Linked DNA regions of Homo sapiens: regions 2, 3 and 4 are each linked to region 1. The links are contacts of gene promoters, found by promoter capture Hi-C in blood cells and fetal thymus (Javierre and others, 2016). All regions are on one chromosome and are shown on one strand. The core of a region is centred on a gene start or on the middle of the fragment in contact, and the rest is flanking DNA. Distances in the headings are between cores, read along the strand shown. Region 1 holds the start of ADAMTS1 (ADAM metallopeptidase with thrombospondin type 1 motif 1). Region 2 has its middle 56 kb from the start of LINC01673. Region 3 has its middle 89 kb from the start of LINC01673. Region 4 has its middle 73 kb from the start of LINC01673.

The links. The method cuts DNA at HindIII sites, captures the fragments that hold promoters and counts their contacts. A CHiCAGO score of 5 or more calls a contact.
Region 2: a contact is called between a fragment that was not itself captured here and the fragment with the promoter of ADAMTS1 in region 1, in 3 of 17 cell types (M2 macrophages, M1 macrophages and M0 macrophages). The highest score is 6.1, in M2 macrophages.
Region 3: a fragment that was not itself captured here is called in contact with the fragment with the promoter of ADAMTS1 in region 1 in 1 of 17 cell types (M2 macrophages); the score reaches 8.9 in M2 macrophages.
Region 4: a contact is called between a fragment that was not itself captured here and the fragment with the promoter of ADAMTS1 in region 1, in 5 of 17 cell types (M2 macrophages, M0 macrophages, M1 macrophages and 2 more). The highest score is 19.0, in M2 macrophages.

What each region holds. Positions count from the first base shown.
Region 1 is chr21:26,843,928-26,846,662 of GRCh38, forward strand. It overlaps ADAMTS1 (ADAM metallopeptidase with thrombospondin type 1 motif 1), which reads right to left and starts at 1,482. Exons shown (of 9, transcript NM_006988.5): 1 at 298-1,482. The coding sequence starts at 1,027. RefSeq lists enhancers at 1,666-2,266, 2,267-2,735. The HindIII fragment of the contact is 3,865 bases long and covers 1-2,075 here.
Region 2 is chr21:27,581,383-27,584,082 of GRCh38, forward strand. No RefSeq gene overlaps it. Among named protein-coding and RNA genes, the nearest start is that of LINC01673, 56 kb to the right of the region's middle. The HindIII fragment of the contact is 2,666 bases long and covers 109-2,700 here.
Region 3 is chr21:27,547,697-27,550,566 of GRCh38, forward strand. No RefSeq gene overlaps it. Among named protein-coding and RNA genes, the nearest start is that of LINC01673, 89 kb to the right of the region's middle. The HindIII fragment of the contact is 3,738 bases long and covers 1-2,870 here.
Region 4 is chr21:27,564,169-27,566,958 of GRCh38, forward strand. No RefSeq gene overlaps it. Among named protein-coding and RNA genes, the nearest start is that of LINC01673, 73 kb to the right of the region's middle. The HindIII fragment of the contact is 4,324 bases long and covers 1-2,790 here.

The DNA.
Region 1 (2,735 bases), core at 232-2,731:
GTGGAAGGAGTCAGGTTACAAACTCTCCCTCCCCGGCCTAAATGCTTTGCTTTAGTTTGCAGAAAATCGTTTGTCAGTTTTTTTCTTGGTTATTCATTATTCGGGCAAATGCAAGTATGTTTTCTAGCTGAGTTCACCAATCCAAACCTCAAACCACATTCCTCCACTCCAGGCCTCCGTTCTGTCCGCGGACTTATGATCCTGCCTGCCAGCAGGAGTCTACCCTGAAGTCGCGTGGGATAGATAAAGTGAGGAGAGGAGGATGAATGGACAGACAAACGAGAGCAATTCTTCTACCTGTGGGCTGTCCTACGCCTTGCAGTGCCGGGTCCTGCGGCGACCACTGAGCCCCTTCGTCCTCGCCCTCAGTCCCTTCGTCCTCGTCTTCGGTCTCCGCTTTCCCAGTCGGCCGGGGCTCGTCGTCCACGACCCCGCACGTGCCGCCGACGTCGCCCTGCCGATTCCGCCGCAGGAGGTGGAACTGTAGTGGTGCCGGCGGCTTCTCCCCTGGGGCGGCGGTGGCGAGGCGCTCGCTGGCGGCGGGCAGCGGCTGGATGAAATACGCCTCCCCCAGCAGGTAGAAGGCGCCGCGCACGCCCTCGCAGAGGCTGAGGGCGGCAGCCGAGCTGGGATCGCCATTCACGGTGCCGGAGTAGAAGCAGTGCGCCAGGTCGGTTTCCGGAAGCGGCGTCTCGGACCCGGATTTGCGCCCCACGTTCTGGAGCGTGAAGCCGGGCGCCAAAAAGCTGCTGTCGGGCCGCAGCTCCAGATCCAGCTGCTGGTCAAAGGCGTGCAGGCGGAGGCGCGTGGTCCCGTGTCCCGGGGCGCGCTCCAGCTCCGGCACCACTAGCTCCTCGTCCTCCTCGGAGGGGCGCCCGAGTGCGTCCGACACGGCCAGTAGCGCCGCGGCGAGCAGCAGCAGCGTGGGTACTGGCCCAAAGCTCCGAGACCCCGGAGCCCGCTCCGCGTTCCCCATGTCGCTGCCCAGCTTGCGCCTTCCGAACCCCTCGGGCACAGCTCGCTGCATTGGAGCCCCAGGAGACACCGCTCGTAGCAGCGCACGGAGCGAGGGACCTTTAGTTCGGGTCGGGAGAGCAAAGCCTCGTTGGCCTGCTCTGGATTGTTAAAATTAACAATTTCTATTATTCGTTGGAAGGGCGCGCAGAGCCGGCTACAGCCGAAGCTCCCGGAGTCACTAAAAGGAGGCGCTGCAGTTCTGCCGGCGCGCGGGAAGTTTTTCTTCCAGCGCAAAGTTGGAGACACTGAGAGGCAGGCGCAGGCAGAGTGGCTCTGCTGGGACAAGAAGCGCTCTGGGGCGCCTCCGGGGCTGAGGCAACGCGGAGATTGGTGCCTGGCGCCCCTCTTCGGCCTCCGCCTTGGCTGCGATGTTGCTCACTCTGCTCAGGGCTCTCCCCTCTCCGTCCGGTAGCGCACCCTGGCTTTGCAATAGCCCCTGGCTCGGAGCCGCTTTCCAGCGAGTGCAAGAACCGGGCAGCCGAGCGGTCCTTTTATAGTGGACCAGTGAAACCCCCACCCCCACCCCACTCCTCCCCTTTGGCCCTTTTCCATCCCAAAGACGCCGCCCCCGGCTCCGTTGGTGCTAAACCGCGCTCCGCGCTGCGGGCTCGGGAGGGGGAGGGGGCAGCCTCCGCGCTGGCTCCACGCCACTGCTCGTCAATCTAGGGGCGGAAGGGGCGCTGTGACCAGCACTTTGTACTGCTGGGGCCGCTCCAGGGAGAAGACTCTCCCTTCCACCGCTTTTCTCCCTCGCCGGTTTCCTGGACCACCCTTCCTCCCCACCGCCCGGTTGCGGTAACTCAGTTACCGCGCTGGGCTGCGGTTCCCAGGAGGGAGGGTTCGGTTGGAGAACGCAGTCCCTTCTTCAACATTTCCCTATCCTGGAGCTGCCCTGGGTCTCCTTCCCTCCTCCCTCAGTTCCCTCTTCCCCAATCTAGGAGATGAGCTAGGGCTACACTTTCTAGAAAAATACCTCACCCCACTTCTCCACCTTCCCAGCCTGCCAGGAGCTCCTTAGCCGCCGCCTGCTCTCTCTTCGCCCCAGCTTTTCTAGGGAAAGCTTGGCCCTGCGCTTCCCCCAGAAAGCATGCCTGGGTGAGGGGCCAGGTGACACTTCCTACGATCTGGATTTTAAAATATGTTTGCTTATGCCTTCACCCTCCACCAACCCCCACCCCGCACGCCACCTCTTCACCAGAGACGACTTTGTGAGGGCCCGGTTTCACATTTCTGGAATGGGTGATCTGGGACGCGGCTCAATTCCCTAGAGCATAAGGAGGGAATTGCGCTTTTTCTTCTTCATTCGAGAAATGATCGGCTCCCGCCAGTCTGCGTGCTTTCACTCAACAGCAGCTGCAAGCCCTAGGCCAGCGTCGCAGAAACGGCCAGGAACCCCACTTTCCTACCCGGGGGCCAGCAGCGATCGCTGGGGCTAGCAAGCGTGCAGAGGGGGAAAGAAGGAAATCGGCTTCCTTCCCGGACCCCTCCTTCCTCTTCCTACCAGGAAGGGAAAAGGCTATATCCGCGTTACGAAAGCGAGGAGAGGTCCACCAACAGGTCCTTAGGAAAAAAAACTGAGTGGCTCTTCTCTCCAAAAAGTGGGAGGGGCTCAAGGACCCAGAGGAAGGACGTGTTTCACAGGCGGAAAGCCGCGGGGACAATGGCGAGAGCGACCGCCCTAGCCCCGGGCGGACCCGCAACCCTCACACTCGCGCGCC
Region 2 (2,700 bases), core at 192-2,691, 740 kb after region 1:
CGCTTTTAAGTATGTAATTATGAGCTGCAAACCATGAAACACTGTCTATGACACATCTTTAATGATACATTTTCAGAGCAGTACATCATAGCAACTGTGAGAAGTTAAAGCTTTAAATGAAGTCAATTCTATAGGATTCTTCTTTATATTAGGCTTTGATTGTCAATCTATGTATGCAACTTAAATACTATATATACATACATATAAAAACATACACCAACTATACAAATTAGAACATGTATATAAACTATATAACTGTATTTAGTATTAAAGTTATTTACACTTTGACAGCAAATTGTTTTTAAACATACGTGAGGTTATATCTGTTTCTTTGTATATTAATTAATATGTGTGTATAGATATATTATTTTAAAATACAGATATATATGTGTGTATATATTTTTTTCTTTAAATTTGGTTGGAAAAACTCTAGAAATATGTATTTTAAGATCAGAGCATAAAGAATTTCTATAATTTAAAATATTACAAATAAATAGCATCTGTAGCTTTGCTGGATATGACTAAACATTTCAATAACTCTGTTTTTGTATGATTCTATAAAAAATAATTAGGCTGAGTGCCATAGCTCATACCTGTAATCCTAGCACTTTGGGAGGCCAAGGTGGGAAGATTGCTTGGGCTTAGGGGTTAAAGCCCACTCTGGGCAACATAGCAAGACCTTGTCTCTACAAAAAATTAAAAAATTAGCCAGGCATGGTGGCTAATACCTGTAGTCCCAGCCACTTGGGAGGCTGAGGTAGGGGGATTACTTGAGCCCAGGAGTTTAAGGCTCCAGTGAGCTACCATCATATCACTGCACTCCAGCCTGGGTGACAGAATAATAGAATAATTGTATTTTATCATTTTTAATATGTTTGCTGTCCCATTTTGAATACATTTCATTTTAATTCATTTCTTGTTAGGGATGTTTTAGTGGGCATATATTATTTGAACCACTTAGCATCTATTCCCACTTCAAATGGAAATGCTCTGATTGACCTCTCAGGCTCCATGACTTGGCAGAAGTCATTGATACCCTGGTCTTGGGCTGGGCTGATTACTCAGTCCTAAGCAATCAAAGGATTGCACCTTCCTTACCTAACGCAGATCAGGGCCAACAAGAAAGGGATCGTGAGGCTACCAAATGCAGATCATACACTGATGCTCACACTTGTGGTACTTCTAATACAACTGCTAAACTAAAATGTATATTTATTGTTAATATTTCTTTCTTTTGTGAATTCATATTCTTCAACCTAATTTTAACTGAGCTATTCATATCTTATGAGTATTATTGATAAGGTATCTCCATTTTCTCAGTCTCATGTTTCTATTTGAAGAGAATTTCAGTTTGAATGATATTCCTGGCTTCTCTCTCCAATTATAACTCATTTTTCTCCATGGGGGATAATATGACTTAACTAAATGGTATGTTTGAGAGAAGAAACTGAGCATACTTAAACCACCCTCTTTACCTCAGAGCTAGAAGTGTTGGAGTGGGGCACACTCCAAAATTATTCTAGAATAATTTTTCTAGAATACATTTATTGGTTCTCAATTGTTGTGTTGTTACAAACTGCCACAAAACTGAATGCTTAAAACAACTATTAATATTTGGCTCACAAATGTGTGTAATCTGCCATTGTGGCTGGGGTCAGTAGTGCAGTTTTTTTCTGCTGGTTTTTGCTGGGCTCACTCATACATCTGCAGATAGTTGACGTGTAACTAAGTAACCTACCCCTGTTAATTGGCTAGCTATTGGCTGAGGTCTGGAAAAATGTCAGAAAAAAATATATTATTATTCTGAGACTGGGAGAGCAGAGAAAAAGCTGTTCTGGGGATTCAGATGATGACACCAAGATAGCTGGCAAAATTATCTTATAAATTTTGCCAAGATTATTTGCCAGGTAGAACATGGACAGTGTAATTTCGCTTATTTTGTTTCCTTTAATAAGAAATGAAGCAAAAGAGATGAGCTGAAGGAATTATTTATTTTGTGATCAGAATTTTGAGGAAATATACAGGGACCGGTTGGACAGAAAGACAACATTTCTTCTATCCTTAGTTTCAAAAGCGGCTAAAAGTTTCTTAAAATAAATGAGGCCTGTGGCCAAAAATTATTCAAACATGGATGTGAGACTCTTTAAAGCTCAGAAAGATTTTGAATCTGATAGACCATCTCAAGCTAGAAGAATGGATTTCAAGACTCTCTAGGCCTAGTCCCATAACAGCCCAACACTTGCCCAAAGTAGAGAGTGGGCTTTTTGGAAAGCAAATGTAGATATGGCTTTATTTTTTTTTCTAACATACTAGAGTATAATCCATTGTTTAGAAATCCCATGAACTCTTCAAAAGAATTTATCAGCGAATCAAAGCCAGTTCGGACTAAGGAGCTGGAAGTTCTCAAATTGAAAATAGGTTTCCGGGCCACCAAATATCTTTGAAAAGAAAACTGGATGAGAAAACTCTTTAGCTGCTGACACAGGTTGGTTCTCAGGGAAAAGGAAAACAGATCAGAAGGAAGAACCCAAAATCCAGAGGGTTTAGCTAAGATCTACAGAATTTGTAAATTATTTTAAACTGAATGAAATCATCCAGGTGCCGTGGCATGTGCCTGTAGTCTCAGCTACTCAGGAGGCTGAGGTGGGAGGACTGTTTGACCCCAGGAGTTCACGGCTATACTACAGTATGCTCATGTCT
Region 3 (2,870 bases), core at 153-2,652, 700 kb after region 1:
AATTCAATATTTCCATTAAGGGGTTAAATCTTTATTTGGGTCAAGACGGACAATTAAATCATCTAAGCTCACTGTCAAATTTACTGATGCCATGAGTGAATGTGTGGGACATTTGGCTTCAGCAGTCAGCAAACGTCAGGGGACTGATATTTTCTTTCATATGCCATCTTTTCAGTCATATAGGATTAGAGGTTTGGAGTCTTTCAGATGCACATTGGATACATAGAGTTATATTAAAGGGATTTCCTTTCTTTCAAGTGGGCTCAGTAATAGGGAAAAATAAGAATTTTTTCAATATCTCATTTTATTGCAAATGTGGATTTTAGGACCATGATGATTAAATAAGCAAGTGAATGAGGTTGAGATTATAAGGTTGAAAGCCATCTCTGCTATTCGCAAAGGAAAGAAGAAGGCAGAGGTGGGGGTGGGGCAGAGAAGAAGGCTAGGAGGAGAGGACATGGCTGAAGGAGGAGATCATGGACTGGCATTCTGAATACTGGAACCAAATGCTTTTGAATGACATAACTGGGTTTGTGCTATAAAATCAGATGTTCTTCTGGTTTCTGAGTGTCATATGTTCACTGAAAAGCATTAGAAATAATAACAAAATAATTAATTTAATCAGCAGTCCATCCAGTTTCATAACAGATATTGAATTACTAAATCCTGTTTCTGAATTTTACCCCTCTGGTCGAATATAAAATGAATAGGGAAATTATTTTCACCGCTGAAGTTTATTATAGATATTCTCTGAACTTTGCTGCCCATTCAGAAGATCTTACCCTCTCAGTTATTGGCTATGTCTGAAGAGAAGCCTGTGGTGTTGTCATGAAAGCTGCGAAGACCCGTAAGTGAAAGAGATGAATATTAACCAAATGCCAAGAGCAAAGCAAATTATGTTTAGGTTAGGACCGTGTAACAACTTGGTTCCACTCATTTACAGTGGCTGTTCAAATTGATGAGCTGAAATGTTTATATGCTGATATCAACTCTGCCCTGGTTGATTTTTATTCTAGGGTATTTGCAGAGTTCCCACTTTCAAATGCACGTAGAGAAAATAATCCCCATCAGGACATCTGGCATTGTTTTTAAACTATCACTTCACTCAGCCTTTGACTGCTAATTTGTTTTTCTTTCTAACTTGTTTAATTTGGAACAATCTTGTTGTAGTCTTTACAGCCTCTCTGTGGTGTTTCTTCATTGTAAAAAACAATATGAAATGCAATACAAAGTCTTCCACCACTCACTCCATGAAGCATGCACTATAATATAAAACAGACAGGTTGCCAATGATGGGCATCCAATAGCCTATTATTTATTAATCTTTAGCATTGATATAAAAGAAGGAATAAATATATTATTTGGTAATTAACCATATTCTTCTGCTCCTGAATTCTAAATTTTTGAGAGGCCTTGATAATCAAAAATCAATAATACTTTACTTAATTATAAATTCTGGTTCACTTTGAAAAATGGTAGAGATTATTATATTTTTCAATTGTTTGAAACGATAAATTGTTCATTGGACTGAACAACGTGTCTTTTTCTCTTCAAATAATTTTATTTCCCCAATCTCCATGTAACCTTTATATATGGAAGTCGCACGCTAGAAACATGGATAATCATGTCATTCATCTCCTGATTGATTCAGATTTATTAATAATGGTACTTATGAGTATTAAAGGTATTTGACTTCCATCATCCACTACTGTGGTAGTTATGCTACTGCCCTATTTTTAAAAACCTAAATTCTAAAATCATTTTGATCAACCTCCAACCATGGACAAATTACTTCATACTTGGCTGTATGTACCTATTAAAAGATATACTATACAGTGCAATATGTCATCCAATGTTTTATCTGAAAATATGTATTCCAACTATAGTAGGTTACCAGGGGATCTAAAATGCCATATTATTTCAAAATCGAAGACATGTAGTTCATTTTAGTTAATGATTTTTAGAATTCAAGATTAGATATGGATCAGTCTACACTATTAAGTTTATTACATTAAGTCATCAGGAGAATAAGTAAAAGGGTGTTTTGCTTGTGGGAAAAAAAAAGAGACAAAAATATGTCTGGTTTTCAATTAGATAAAACCTTCAAACTGCTCAAGGCATGGTCTTTATTGATTTAAAAATAAAACCCAAAGTAATACATTATATATTCCTATTTAATTATGTATAAATATGATGGACTTAAAACATTAACTTTATTTCTTCTTATTTATGATCAGTTTAACTACAAATATAAGCTGTACCTTTGCATATCAAGTCCTATATTAAAAGATTATTCTTTTTGAGATTTAAAGAGCACATTTATAATATTTAATTAACTGTAGGAGGACTATTTTTGTAGATTTTGCAATTTGTTTCTCAGTTTAATATAATAGATTTTAATTAAAAATGTAGTTTCTATTCATTGGTGAGTATTGCATTATTCATCACCAGGGTACAGGATCTAACAAATATGTAACATTTTAAAATAGCAGTGTTGTCACATACTTTAGGGGCTCGATATTAAGTAGAAGGTGTTGTTTAATAATAGTAAAGGGAAAGACAAATAATTGTTTTTCTAGTCTAATTTGTTTTTGATATTCATAGCAAAAATCTCCTTTGGCTTCTATGATAAATACATATTTATCAACTGCCTTCCTTAGAGTATAAAGTAAAACAAAGAACTCTTGCCATGTCCCTAATCTAAAGTAAACCTGGTCATAAGCCAAATTATTCTGAAGTGCCTGCTAAATTTGAATCTTAGAATATTTGCCAAATGTGTAACTTGCCTTAACTGTGTATATTGTACAGTCAAATGTCAACAGTGTAGTTACATTGCTAAAAACCTTGGCTTTCAGCCTCATCTTGCAATT
Region 4 (2,790 bases), core at 47-2,546, 720 kb after region 1:
ATTTTTCAACTCTTTCCATATTGCACCCTTTGGAAGAAAGTCACTATTAACAGCTCATACTGAAGAAGTGAGTTGTTTTGATTATTTGGTATTCTTCTACAAGGCAGATTTGTTTCTTCTCTACTACCTATTCAATTGTGTATTGATATCTGTATGGACTCAGACATTGATTTTATAATTTGGACCATAATCCAATGCTACTTTGTTTGCTTTGTTGCCCAAATTGTTCTAGCTATGGACACTTGGAGCTTTTTCAGTTTGTTCCTCGGACCCTTTGACATGCCCCCATCATTGTGGGTTTTCTTTTCTTCCTTTTTTTTTTAGGACTTTCTGGCATTATAAGATATAGCCCTAGATTCAACTTGCATATTTCATCTATTTTTAAGTTATTAAATAGCATTTACTTTGTGATCCCATTTGGGGAAATACATGGAATTCAGATGCATGTATTATAATATGGAATAATATCAAACATTAATAGTGGTTATGCTATCTCCGGGTAATCGTACTATTAGTGATTTAGTTTTTCTCTTTATGAATCTTTATTTTTATTATGACATATTACTTGTGTTAGAAATCAATAATATTGGATGATCAGAAAGGAAATAAAAATATTCTGAAGGCAATAATAACTTATTTATAAATCAGTGAAGCCTGTGTCTCTAGACTGACAGGACATGAGGCAATTTTAGAGTGGCAGGTGCCCTCTACTGGTCAGCTGCTCAAACCCTCTATAGACTAAGAGCTGCATCCTTAAAAACAAAAGCCCACCATTTTCTTAGCACTGATATCTCAGGAGGTAAAAAAGTACTTGGGCTTTTGCTAGAGATTACATAGCTACATATCTGAGGGGTCACTACGTGAACTTAAAAATTGACTCCTATAAATGTGAAGTCTGTACTGTGGATTGTGAATTAGAAATGGATATGTGTGAGAACAGGCCTAGAAAAATATCACACATGCTGACTTGCCAATGTTGGACCTCTTGAGTCTAATCTACAAAAAAATCTCCTTGGATGAGAATATTTTGTTCATGACCTCTCTGCTGAGAATGTGACCATGTCTGCTACAGAGCTTAAATAAATAATGCTGAGACTATTCATTACAAAGCTCCCAAGGAGAAAAAAAAAGCAATTTATTTTATGTACTACCTTAATTAAGTTTAAACTGCCTAGTGTGAATTTTTGATGAAGAACAAAGATATAATAAGTGATTTTGCCTAGGGAAGCTCATGTGCTGAGTCAATACTTATTGAGCACAGTTCTCTTTTATATTAGATGCTGCTCTAAGAAGCTGCGTGCAATACAGCATCAGATGTTGCAGAGCTCTGCATATGGGGGGCTTGCACTTGTGAGCAGAAACAAACAATAGGCAATAAACTTGATAAATGAGTAAATGACTTGATTGGTAGCAGGCATAAAGAAAACCACAGTGTATTAAGGGCCACTGGGAGGAGTAGGGGTGGAGATGCAGCCAGCTTGCTGTACTAAGAGAAGAGACAGAGTAGGCCTCTTTAAGAAGGTGATGTTTGAGCAAACTAGCAATACATAAACAAATAAACCTTAAAATTCTTTTTTTTAAATTCTGAGAGTCATCTTTTATATAACAAACTGTAGTTATTTCTAATTCCTCCTAGGATAAAATGAAAAAAATTTAAGGAGGCCTCCAGGGCTTTGTAGATTCCAGCCTCAGCTTGGTTCTCCAGCCCATTTTTAACTAGCCCCTCTTTTTGTTTACTCTGTTTCAAGCATATTGATTTTTGTTTGTTTGTTTTACTTATTTTCTTTAATGACCAAAGCCATTCCCAACTCTGAATCTAAACACCTTTTTCCTCTGCCGGGATTCTGCCCTTGCCACCATTCCTACCCTTTAACTCTCAATTGAAATACCATTACCTCAATAAAACCTTTTCCGGGTCACACCAACCATCTCAAACTAACAACTCCCTGAATTTCACCTTCCAATGTTACCATGGTTATATTTAAATTCCTACGTAGTGAATTTTGTCTTCTCCCAGCCTCTAGCCACACTCTACTCCTGGACCGGAAGCATTTTGAGATCAGGGGCTTCATCTTGACTGTCTTCCCAGCACTTCGTATGGTAGCTCATAGTAGTCGCTTAATGGATATTTGTTGAACAAATGAGTCAAACTTTTTGTTTAGTTCCCTGCTGCCCCATATGGATAACCTTGATTATCTGAACATTTAGGGGAAATCTCATGGAGGCACCCTTTTATAGTACAGAATTTCCCTCATGCCTTCTTTGCTACGAGGTAAATTTAAATCATGGGTGCAAGGAGTCAGACATGACAGAGGCAGAGATTCTTGATTCAACAAGTATGTATGTCTATTTTCTCTTAGAAGCTCAAACTTTTGTATGTTCCACACTTTATATCACGCACAATGATGGAATTATGGGAAAGTGAAACATCGTAGTTTTGATTATAGTGGTGATTAATTTGGCACCGGTCTCAAAGCCGAAAAGAGAAAGGGGGAGAAGAATGGGGAGAGTCCCTGAACAGCTGATCTATGCTGCCAAAAGACGCAGCTTCTCAAATTACTTGGAGGAGCCAGAGATCCCTTAAATAAAAGGAGAGGTGTCTAGGTTTGTGCATTTAAAGAGACATATTCCTTTAAAGCAAATTTTTCAGCGCTGACTACACATTAGAATCACTAGGAAAGATTTTATGAATACAGGATATACAAGTCATACCCTAGGTCAATTATATCAGAATCCCTAGGGCCAAGACCTAGGTATTGATGGTTTTTAAAAATTTCTCAGGTGTTTCTA